Linked DNA regions of Homo sapiens: regions 1 and 2 are each linked to region 3. The links are contacts of gene promoters, found by promoter capture Hi-C in human tissues and cell types (Jung and others, 2019). All regions are on one chromosome and are shown on one strand. The core of a region is centred on a gene start or on the middle of the fragment in contact, and the rest is flanking DNA. Distances in the headings are between cores, read along the strand shown. Region 1 has its middle 4.0 kb from the start of TRAPPC10. Region 2 overlaps TRAPPC10 (trafficking protein particle complex subunit 10). Region 3 holds the start of AGPAT3 (1-acylglycerol-3-phosphate O-acyltransferase 3).

Region 1 (4,085 bases), core at 505-3,004, 140 kb after region 3:
CAGGCCTTTGTGGGGATGGTTTGTTCCTTTCTGCTGCTGAGTAGTATTCTGGGTGTGGATGGGCCACACTGTTTGATGATTCAGAGGCTGAGGGATGTCTGGATTGTGTCCGGTTCTGGGCAGCTTGCTGTGAACATTCACTGACTGGCCCTTCCTTTTGCCCTCTGTGCAGAGGGCCCGAGCAGTCCCTCTGGTTAGATAAGGCAGACACAATGTCCCAATACATAATTTAACAGGCTCTTTGCAGCCTGGAGACGATGTAATGGGTTACCAGGAAAAACCATTTGAGTTCAAGTTCCAGCAACTTTTCAAAAACAATAAAACAAAATAAAAAACACCCCAAATGCTGCCTCATGAAAAAAGGTACTAAAAAAAAAAAAAAAAGAATGAACATCGATTGACAGGACTAGCATCATTTCACCATGATTCATTAAAAGAAAGTGCCAAACCAGTGTTTGTGCTGAATTCAAGCATTTTCTAAATTCCCAAGTGGAAAAAAAAAATCTCTTATAGGTCTGCTCAGAGGGAAAATAGGCTTGCAGTCCACTTACTGCCCACGCACCAAAGGCTGCCTGGACCAGAGCCGGTGGGATTGGAGGAGGGGATTCTGCCTTTGCCTCCCTTCCTCCAGAAAGAACACTCCCTAACGTGGGAGCCCATCCAGCCGCACAACGCTGTGTCCACGTCTTCGGGAAGGGGAATGGCTAGTGTCTGTCTTCTCAGAGCAGCTGGACTCAGTTCTCTGTGAGAACAGTACAAAGACATAGATATTCCTCGGCTTGGAGTCTACACTTGGTATTGTCGGGTTTTTATTTTTTATTTACTTATTTTTTGTTTTTTGAGACAGAGTCTAGCTCTGTTCCCCAGGCTGGAGCGCAGTGGTGCAATCTCGGCTCACTGCAACCTCCGCCTCCCGGGTTCAAGCGATTCTCCTGCTTCAGCCTCCCAAGTAGCTGGGATTACAGGTGCACGCCACCACGCCTGGCTAATTTTTTGTATTTTTAGTAGAGACGGGGTTTTACCATGTTGGCCAGGCTGGTCTCGGACTCCTGACTCCTGAGGCCCACCTCAGCCTCCCAAAGCACTGGGATTACAGGCATGAGCCACCGTGCCTGGCCTCGTCAGGGTTTTTAATTATAAATTTAAATTTTATCGATTTGAGTACATGTGAAGTGGCATCTCATTTTCATTTTAACTTGCATTTCCCTGATGTCTAATGAGCGCTGAGTGTCTTTTCCTGACATAACTGGTCCTTTCTGTCTTTCTCCTGTTGTTCTTTCCCTGACTTCTTTTGGATTAGTCAGATATTTTCTATTATTTCTCTTTTCTTTATTGGCTTCTTAGCCAAACCCCTTTTGTTCATTTTTTCCCTAGTGCTTTTTCTCCTGGGCACAGACTACGTATGCCTCACATATCAAATTTAATGTAGGGTCAATATTGTATCACTTCAGTCTTCCCTCTTCATACATAACCCTTTGCATCTTGCACCTCACACCTGGAGTTCCACACTTCACAGTGTGAGGAGCTTATCAGTGGGTTACCTCTCACCATCCATCCTTCACACTGTCCTTACCTTTTACTTCTACACACACTGTAGAAGTATCACAAGCTATTGTTTGTTTTAAACAGTCAGTGGTCTCTTAAAGAAATTATGAGAAGGGCCGGGTGCAGTGGCTTATGCCTGTAACCCAGCACTTTGGGAGGCCAAGGTGGGCAGATCACCTAAGGTCAGGAGTTCAAGGCCAGCCTGGGGAAGACCCCCTGCCGTCTCTACAAAAAATTAAAAAATTAGCTGGCATGGTGGTACGTGCCTGTGGTCCCAGCTACTTGGGAGGCTGTAGTGGGAGGATGGCTTGAAGCCAGAAGACTGAGGCTACAGTGAGCCGTGACTGTGCCCCTGCACGCCAGCCTGGGCGACAGAGCAAGACCCTGTCCCCCCACCAAAACATTTTTTTTCTCTTGATCTATTTCACCAGTTTGAGTATGATATGCCTGCATGTAATTTTCTTTGTATGTGTTCTCTTCAGGTTTTGCTGAATTTCTTGATCTGTAAATCAGTATTTTTCACCACGTGTTTGGATTTGGAGCCATCATTTTGCAAAAATGTTTCCTTCCTAGACTCATACTCTCCTTCTGGAGCTCCGATCACACATGCTTTTGGCCATTTCATACTGTCCCATAGGTCTCTGAGGTTCTCTCCACTTTTCTTCAACTTTTTTCTCTTCTTCAGATTAAATAATTTCTATCCATCTGCCTTCAAGATCCCAAACTCCTGTTTTCTCCAATCTGTTAATCCAATTCAGTGAAATTTTCATTTCTGTTATTGTACTTTTCAGTTCTAGACTTTTCTTTTGATTCTTTTAGATACTTTGTTATTCTGCTGTGAATTTCTGATTCTTTACTCATTAAGACAATATTTTCATTTAATCCTTTGGACATATTATTTTTATTTATTTTGAGATGGAGTCTTGCTCTGTCACCCAGGCTGGAGTGCAGTGGCACTATCTTGGCTCACTGTAACCTCCACCTCCCGGATTCAAGCGATTCTCCTGCTTCAGCTTTCCGAGTAGCTGGGGCTACAGGCGTGCGCCACCACACCCAGCTAATTTTTGTGTTTTTAGTAGAGATGGGGTTTCACCATGTTGGCCAGGCTGATCTCAAACTCCTGGGCTCAAGTGATCTGCCCACCTCGGCCTCCCAAATTTCTGGGATTACAGGTGTGAGCCACCGTGCCCAGCCTCCTTTGGACATATGTAGAGCTGCTTTAGAATCTTTGTAAATACAGAATCTGGTTCATTGTAGGGGGATTGGTTTCTGTTAACTGCTTTTTTTTTTTCTTAACTATGGCTTACGTTTTCCTCTTTCTTTGTATGTTTAGTGATTTTTGTTTTTTTAGTGTATATTCAACACTGATAAATAACAAATGAGGGAGACTCAGGGTGCTCTTCCACTGAAAAATCCTGACTTTCGTTCTAGTTTGTAGTTCCATTACTGGACGTACCATGCTGGGCTGTGTAGGCTTAGCTTTAGGCTCTGTTTACTGAGCAATGTCCCAGGTGTCTCCCAGGCCCCTCTTACTTGGCAGGACTTAACCTCCAAACTCTGACCGTCTTGTGGATCGGGTCAGGGTTTTGCTTTAGACGTTGTTAAGGCGGGCCTGGAGTAGTCCTTATTCTAGGGGAGGGACTGGCAACCTCTGGCTCACAAGCCACATGTGTTGATGGCCTGTTTTTGTACAGCACTTAAAGCCAGGAATGGCTTTTATATTTTTAAAGAGTTGTTTAAAAAAAAAAAAAAAACAAGCAAAAATATGAAACAAAAACTGCATGTGGCCCACACAACCTAAAATACTTATCTGGGCCCTTTATAGGTCGTTTGCTGACCCCTGGGAATGTGATTCTCAATCTAGTGTCTCAGCTCAATGTCCTCAGTGTTAATGGCATTAAAAAGGTCTTGACTGGGCACGGTGGCTCGTACTCGTCATCCCAGCACTTTGGGAGGATTAGGCAGGAGGACTGCTTGAGGCCAGGAGTTCAAGACCAGCCTGGGCAACAGAGTGGGACCCTCTCTCTACAAAAAAAGAAAAAATTAGCCGGGCGTGGTGGCACTCACCTGTGGTCCCAACTACTTGGGAGGCTGAGGTGGGAGGATCACTTGAGCCCAGAAGTTCTAGGCTGCACTGAGATAACGATCAAACCACTGCACCCCAGCCTAGGTGACAGAACAAGACTGTCTGAAAAGAAAACAAAACGGAAAGTCCTTTCCTGTAGCACTACTGGACCTCTAGTCTTTGTGCCATCCTCAACTCTGTAACAGCCGCTTCCTGGTAAACCCATAGAGTCGTCCCACACGTGTAGTCCAGCCTAGGCCAAGGACTTTCAGGGAACCCTACATCGACTTCGGCTCCCCACTCTTGCTAAGCTTCTTCCCCTCCAGTGCCCTGCCTTGCCGGCCTGCTGCTTTAGCTGCCCAGAAGTCTGGTCTCTTGCCTCTCACACCATTACAGTGCACCACACTACACTATGTTCACACATTTAGCAGCTGTGTTCACACCCAAACTATCTCATATATACATTTTGTTAAAA
Region 2 (3,776 bases), core at 37-2,536, 230 kb after region 3:
GGATTACAGGTGTGAGGCACTGCACTCAGCCTATCTTGCATTTTGAATGGCTCTTTTACCCAGGCATCATAGCGTTACACCCTGTGCCATTAGTCATGTGGGAAACATGGTTTCCTGAGTTGTGCAGATCTTCCAAATGTGGGCACCTTTCGTTTGACAATATTTTTTTAAAATCTGCATTTGTGATCTCTCAGGGAGGGCTTGGAGCATCAGAACTCTTTCAAGCTCACAGTGGCAAGTGTAAGTTTTCCAAAATTCTGATTTTTGCTTAAAGTCTCAGATGGCATCATTGGCAGCAAATAGTCGTGTTGTTTTCTTTGAAGTGACAGGCTTACATCATTCATTTTTAATCAGACGTCTACCAAATACCCAACACTGAATAACTAGCTTCCCCAGCGCTCTTGCAAGTGAAAAGGGCGTTCTGTGAAAACAGCGGCTATTTCAGCTCGCAGCACCGAGCGCTCCCCGTGTGCTTTCCCTGAGCCAGCTGTCATTCTGCAGCAGAGACCCAGAGAATGTCAAGAACACAAGCACTCAAGAATGGAAATAACTCAAACGTCCTTCAGCTCGAGAGCGGTTAAACTGGCACATCTGATTCCTCCTCAGCAGTGAAACAGAAGGGACTGTTGACACACGCAGTGCTGTGGTTGGATCTCAAGGGCATTATACTAAGAGAAAAACGCCAGTCCTATAAGGAGGTGTACTGTGTGATTCCATTTCTAAATGACATCCTCAAAATGCCAGCCTCAGAAGGAGAGCGGGTCAGTGTTCCACGGAGCAGTGGGAGGCAGCAGGAGGCCGTCCTCTGTGGTAATGGAGAGTTCTGGGCCAGGGCCGCTGTGGTTGTTACACGAATCTACACATGTGACAAATGCCATAGAATTAGACCCAAAGAATGCCTGCGAAAGCTGCTGAAATCCAGTGGGGTCTGCAGCCTGGTTCACTCTGTAGTGAAATCCAGTGGGGTCTGCAGCCTGGTTCTATCTGTATTGAAATCCAGTGGGGTCTGCAGCCTGGTCCACTCTGTAGTGAAATCCAGTGTGGTCTGCAGCCTGGTTCTATCTGTATTGAAATCCAGTGGGGTCTGCAGCCTGGTCCACTCTGTAGTGAAATCCAGTGGGGTCTGCAGCCTGGTTCTAGCTGTATTGAAATCCAGTGGGGTCTGCAGCCTGGTCCACTCTGTAGTGAAATCCAGTGGGGTCTGCAGCCTGGTTCTATCTGTATTGAAATCCAGTGGGGTCTGCAGCCTGGTTCACTCTGTAGTGAAATCCAGTGGGGTCTGCAGCCTGGGTCACTGTATGGTACCAGTGTCAGCTTCCTGTGTTACACGAGATGGCACAGTTGGGTGAAGCTGGTGATGAAGGTATGTGACCCCTCTACTACTTTTACAACTTCTTGTGAGTCTATAAACATTTCACAATTAAAAAAAAGTCTACTCAGGAGCTGAATTTAATAAAATGAGCACTTTTGACTGCTTTGTGAAGCGTGGCATTTTTTTTTTTGTTTTTTTGCTGTGAGTTCATGGTAGTAAAGAACATGAGTGACATGACTGCGCAGTCTGGCCCGAGTTCATGCCATTGTGGTTGCCCCAGCAGCGCGAGGTCAGCAGCGTAGAAAGGCAGCAGTGTGAAAGCTATGAGCTTGCGGGTGCCCTGAGAGCCACACTCTGAGAACTGTCACTCCTTTGCCTTCCTCCTGACACTCCTAGGGCCTCTGCATGTCCTGTAGTAGCTCCTGTCCTCAAAGGTCCCCCATCCCCAACTACAGGATGTCCACCTCCCTGAGCCCTTCTCTGCTGCTCGTGGCCTTCTGGTCACTCACTCCCCCTGGGCGGTTGCTCGGTATCCTCATGATGGGAAGCTGTGACCTCTTTACCAGGTCTACTGCTACTGGATGGCAAGGATCCTGTCTTGCTTACTTTCATATCTCCAGGGCTAGTCCCAGTGAATGATCACTTAAGTGTTTGAATTGCATTGAATTACATGATGGTTGTGTTTTAATAATTAATGTTAATAATAACACCTGCCATATATTAAGACACTACCATGTCCCAGGAGTGGTACTAAGTGCTTTACATACAAGGGGTCTTCAAAAAAATCATGGAAGATACGTTATGAAAAAACTATGCATGGATTTCAACACTTTTTGCACCAAAATAAGCTCCTACTCACTGAGCAGGATCTAGTTTGAGGCACTAAGAAGGATAAGACATCAGTTTTAAAAGAGCCCCTATCAGAGCAACATGAATTCTGCTAAAATTAAATCAAGAACCAACATTGGCCGGGTGCAGTGGCTCACGCCTGTAATCCCAGCACTTTGGGGGGCTGAGGCAGGCGGATCACCTGAGGTCAGGAGTTCAAGATCAGCCTGGCTAATATGGCGAAACCCCATCTCTACTAAGAATACAAAAATTAGCTGGGCGTGGTGGCAGGCGCCTATAAGCCCAGCTACTTGGGAGGCTGAGGCAGGAGAATTGCCTGAACCCAGGAGGCGGAGGTTGCAGTGAGCCAAAATTGCGCCACTGCACTCCAGCCTGGGCAACGAGCAAAACTCCGCCTCAACAACAACAACAACAACAAAACAACCAACATCAAATTTATGGTGAAGCTTGGGTGGAAGAATGGTGAAATCATTGATGCTTTATGAAAAGTTTATGAAATTCTTTGGACAGTGCCCCAAAGAATTAGTAGTTTGCAAATGGATATCTTGTTTTAAGAAGGGACGAGATGATGCTGAAGATTAAGGCCATAGCAAGCAGACCATCCACATCCATTTTCAAGGAAAAAATTCACCTTGTTCATGCCCTAATTGGAGGGAACTGACAACAGCAGAAATGACAGCCAACACCGCAGACATCTGAACTGGTTCAGCTTATGCAATTACGCCTGAAGGGTGAGCAAGCGTTCCACTCAGTGGGTGCCAAAACCCTAGTACCCAGGTCCGTGGCCGACCAGAGCAGAGCTTCCCATGGAAACTTCAAACACACGGGATCAAGATCCTGAAGCATTTACTCAAAGAACCATAACAGGAGATGCAGTGTGGCCTTCCCAGTACCATCCTGAAGACAAAGCAGACACGGCAATGGCTACCAAGAGGTGGGGTGGCCCCACCAAAGCAGAAGCAGACTGGTCAAGAGCAGAGGCCACAGCAACAGGTTTTTGGGATACTCAAGGCATTTTGCTTGTTGACTTTCTGGAGAGTCAAAGGACAGCAGCGTCTGTGTATTATGAGATTGTTTTGAGGAAGATAGCAAGAGCTTTGGTAGAAAAACCCCTGGGGAAGCTTCACCAGAGAGTCCTCCTCCACCACGACAAAGCTCCTGCTCATTCCTCTAACAAGCCCAACTTCGTGAGGGTTTCTATGGGAAATCATGAGGCATCCACCTTGTGGACCTGATTCGGCTCCTTCTGACTGATTTTGGTTTCCTGATCTTAAGAAGTCTTTAAAAGGCACCCATTTTTATTCAGCTAATAATGTAGAGAAAGACTGCGTTGACATGGCTAAATTCTCAGGCCTCCCAGTTCTTCAGGGATGGACTAAATGGCATCGTAAGCAATGGCATCATTGCTTACAAACATGTCTTGACCTTGGTGGGGCTTATGTTGAGAAATAAAGCTTATATTTTCTGTTTTCATCTTTGGATTCCATTTTTGCATGAACTTTTTGTAGTTCCCTCATACGTATTCTCTTTCCATCCTTAAAAAGCAGCTCTGTGAGGCTGGTGGTGGTCTCAGCACTATACAGCGGTCATTGAGCCTGGAGGCCTTGGGGTGCTC
Region 3 (4,061 bases), core at 1,561-4,060:
GTGGTGGTGCATGCTTATAGCCCTAGCTATTTGAGAGGCTGAGGTGGGAGGATCCCTTCAGGGATCCTGCAGTGAGCTATGATCATACCACTGCACTCCTAGCCTGGGTGACGGGGGGACACCCTTTTTCTAATAGTAATAATAAATTATAAAATATATAAATTATAAAATGTGTGCTTATGATAAATCTAAACATTACTACCTAACATACATAGAAATTTTATTGTAATAAAATTTCTTTACCCTTGCCCATTCACTATCATATCTTCACAGAGCCTTCTGGACTTGTATCTGCCTATGTTGTTTTCTGTTTTTTTTTTTTTTTTATTTGTTTGTTTGTTTTGAGACAGAGTCTCGCTCTGTCGCCCAGGCCAGAGTGCAATGGCTAGATCTCAGCTCACTGCAACCTCTGCCTCCCGGGTTCAAGCAATTCTTCTGTCTCAGCCTTCTGAGTAACTAGGATTACAAGAGAGCACCAGCACGCCCAGCTAATTTTTGTATCTTGTTTTAGCAGAGGTGGAGTTTCACCATGGCTGGTCTGGAACCCCCGACCTCAAGTGATCCACCCGCCTTGGCCTCCCAAAGTGCTGGGATTACAGGTGTGAGCCACTGCATCTGGTCTTTTTTTTTTTTTTTTTTTTTGAGATAGAGTCTCACTGTGTCACCTAGGCTGGAGTGCAGTGGCACAATCTTGACTCACTGCAACCTCTGCCTCCCAGGTTCAAGCAGTTCTCTGCCTTAGCCTCCCGAGTAGCTGGGATTACAGGCGCCTGCACCACGCCAGGCTAATTTTTTTTTTGTATTTTTAGTAGATACGGGGTTTCACCATCTTGGCCAGTCTAGTCTTGAACTCCTGACCTCGTGATCCACCAGCCTCAGCCTCCCAAAGTGCTGGGATTACAGACAGGTGTGAGCCACCGTGCCTGGCCATTTTTTGTTTGTTTGTTTGTTTTAAATAAAGCACATCATTGTATATTCACTGCTCTGCACTATTTTTATTTTTTAATTTAACAGATCTTGGAGACTATATCCTATCTGTGTACACAGAATTATCACATCACAACTTTAGAAAATGTTTTAAATTAAAAATGCTAAATGAATGTTCTAGAGTTTATTTAACCAAGTGTCTGGTTGTTCTCAGGCTTCCTGTGATTATAGGTATAGCTGTAAGTCAGCACATCCCTGTATCCACACATCCCGTGGTGCCTGTGAGAATTTATCTGTGGCACAGATTACCCAAAATGACATGAGGGGTGAGAGGTTTTACAAATGGTGAATTCCACGAGCTTTGCAAATCTTAACTCCTTTTTCAAGAATAAGGGAACTGTGAGTAGGACAGGTGCACGGTACTTTCATTTTATTTTAGTCTAAGTATTTTCTGAAATAATTTGAGGAGGCTTAAAGGGAGGTGCAAGCTGGGTGCGGGGGCTCATACTTGTAATCCCAGCACTTTGAGAGGAGGAGGTGGGAGAATACTTGAGCTCAGGAGTTCGAGATCAGCCTGGGCAACACCGTGAGGCCCCATTTCTACAAAAAAAATTTTTTTTAAATTAGCCAGACATGGTGGTGTGTGCCTGTGGTCCCAGCTACTTGGGAGGCTGAGGTGGGAGGATCACTTGAGCCCTGGAGTTCAAGGCTTCAGCGAGCTATGATTGTACCACTGCACTCCAGGGTGGGCGACAGAGCAAGACCCTGTCTCAATAATAATAAAAATAAAAAAAAAAAAAAGGAAAAAAAGGGGCACAGTAGACAGTACCAGTACTTGGTATTTTAAATGGTTTTCAAATGAAGCCCACCCAAGCTCAGCAAGTCCAGCCGGGGCCTGAGGACCTGAGCAGGCGCCAGGTCACACAAGGTACCGGGCGCAGGAGGCGGAGCCCGCAGCGGGCCCTGCCCTGACAGCGGCACCTGCGCGGCCTCCGCAGGTTCTGGGATCGGCCGCTGGCCAGGTGCAAGGGAGGGGGGACGGCAGCCGCTGTCCTGGGGCTGAGAGGGCTCCGCGGTCTGGAGGGGACGGCGTCAGCGCCCGCGGGGGTTCGCAGGGCAGCCCCGGGGCGACCCCCACCCCCGCCACGGTCAAGTGTCGATACAGTGTTGCCAGCCGGGTGCCAACTATGAATAAGTCCAAGGGCGCGGCACGTGGGCCGAAACGCGATCCTTCCGCGGAGCCGCTGCGCGCAGGGCCGTCCCCACCGAGCCCGCCGCGCGGCGACCCCTGACGGCGACCCTAAGCCCCGGCCGACCAGGGCAGGAGCTCGCGCGCGAAACTTCCCCGGCGCCCGCAGGAGACCCCGGCAGGGGAGATGGCGGGGCCCAGGCAGAGCTCGGAGGCCCCTCCCGGCCCCACCCCGCGCCCCGGCCCCCTCTGCCCCCGACCCGGTCCGGGGGAGCCCTCGCGGGACCCCAGCCTGGTCCTTCGCCGCCTCCCCCCGTTCAGCCCCGACCCCCCTGATCCCCGCGCCCCCCGCGGTCCCGGCCCGCCCCCTCCCCCAGCCCGGGCCCCAGCCCCGTCCGTTAGCGGATCCCACGCAGGCTCCGCGCCCGGCCCCGCCGGCGCCCTCGGCCCACACCTCTCTCCGCGCGCGTGTCCCGCCGTGTCGCCCCCGTGTCCCCTCCGCGTCCCCCCCCGCGCCGTCCCCCCGCGTCCCCCCCCGCGTCCTTCCCCCGTGTCCCCCCAGCGTGTCCCTCGGCCGCCCCGCGCGCGCCGGCGGAACTGTGGGATCGCCGCGCACAGGAAGTGGCGGCGGCGGCGCGGCCGAGGGCGGAGGGCGGAGGGCGGCGGGATGGGGGCCGGGGGCGGCGGGCGCCGCACTCGCTGAGGCCCCGACGCAGGGCCGGGCCGGGCCCAGGGCCGAGGAGCGCGGCGGCCAGAGCGGGGCCGCGGAGGCGACGCCGGGGACGCCCGCGCGACGAGCAGGTGGCGGCGGCTGCAGGTGAGCACCGAGGCCCCCACCCGAGGTCGGGCCGCCCCCCTCTTCCCCCACGCCCCGCCGCCGCCCGAGGTCGCCCTCCCGCCGCCGGAGGTCGCCCCTGCCCCAGCCGTCCGACCTCGGGCCGCCCGGGGCCCCGCGCCGCAATGGGCCGGCCGCGCTCCGCGGGGCGCGGGGCCTGGGAAGGCGCGGGGCCGGGAGGAGGTCTGGGCCCGGGTCCTGTGCGCCCCCCGCAACCCCGGCCTCCCCGGCGGCCTGGTCCAGCGCGAGGCCCCGGCCGCTTCCCGCAGCAGCCTCGGTGGCGCTGGGCCCAGCGGGGAGGCCCGGGGGTTCGGGGCGCCCGGGAGGGGCCCGGGCCGGGCCGAGGGAGGGCGAGTGGGTTCCCGCGGGGACGTCCCATCCCTCCGTCCTGGACTCTGCTCCGGGCCCCGCTCGGCTCCCCCGTGGACAGGACGCGCCCGCCGCCTGGTTTCGGGGCGCGGCGGACCCGGGACCCCCCCCAGGGGCCTCCTCCTCGCGCGCCCAGGCCAAGGGAGCAGTTTCACTTTTGCCGCTCCGCGCGGGGAGGGCTGCGGGGCCCGGGGTTGGCTGTGGGTTCGGCCCGGAGACCGGCGGCGCGTTTGCACCGGGCGGGTCAGGGGATGGGGTCAGTCCGGGGGCAAGAGCCGTGGGGGCGAAAACCCACTCCTGGCCACCCCAGGACCCTTGGAACATTGGTCCCAAGTACTTAGGAAAGGAGGGTTATTAGTATTTGAAGGCAGTTAAAAATGGTGCAGTGTTTTTTTTTTTTTTTTTAACTTTGAGAGAAGTTTAGTGACATGGGGAAAATGCTTTTATAAATGGCTTCCCAGACCTTTAAAAAAAAAAAAGCACAATTTTAAAAGCTTTGTCTAGGAGAATACTTGAGCAGTTGGGTTCTTTTTCCTGGGAAACATGATCTTAGTAGAAGAAAGATGTGGGCTGTTGGCCTCCAGACAGAGGGTGATGAGCATGCGGCTCTTATTAAAAATGAAAGCCAACGCCGAGAGCCTGCTGGGGGCTGGGAGGTGGGGCGGGCGGCGGGCCCAGGCTGCTAGAGGGACCCAGGATCCTGCAGCTTTTAAATTGCAGGCGCGGCTGCTCCGACTCGAC

The links. The method cuts DNA at HindIII sites, captures the fragments that hold promoters and counts their contacts. A contact is called where the count stands out against the background at its distance.
Region 1: a contact is called between a fragment that was not itself captured here and the fragment with the promoter of AGPAT3 in region 3, in 5 of the 25 tissues and cell types used here (dorsolateral prefrontal cortex, hippocampus, lymphoblastoid cells and 2 more).
Region 2: a fragment that was not itself captured here is called in contact with the fragment with the promoter of AGPAT3 in region 3 in 7 of the 25 tissues and cell types used here (bladder, dorsolateral prefrontal cortex, hippocampus and 4 more).

Annotation. Positions count from the first base shown.
Region 1 is chr21:44,006,306-44,010,390 of GRCh38, forward strand. No RefSeq gene overlaps it. Among named protein-coding and RNA genes, the nearest start is that of TRAPPC10, 4.0 kb to the right of the region's middle. The HindIII fragment of the contact is 5,883 bases long and covers 1-4,085 here.
Region 2 is chr21:44,098,596-44,102,371 of GRCh38, forward strand. All of the region lies in intron 21 of TRAPPC10 (trafficking protein particle complex subunit 10), which reads left to right. Among named protein-coding and RNA genes, the nearest start is that of PWP2, 6.9 kb to the right of the region's middle. The HindIII fragment of the contact is 4,324 bases long and covers 1-3,448 here.
Region 3 is chr21:43,862,413-43,866,473 of GRCh38, forward strand. It overlaps AGPAT3 (1-acylglycerol-3-phosphate O-acyltransferase 3), which reads left to right and starts at 2,811. Exons shown (of 10, transcript NM_020132.5): 1 at 2,811-2,933. RefSeq lists silencers at 1,870-2,229, 2,780-3,129, 3,250-3,569. The HindIII fragment of the contact is 11,781 bases long and covers 1-4,061 here.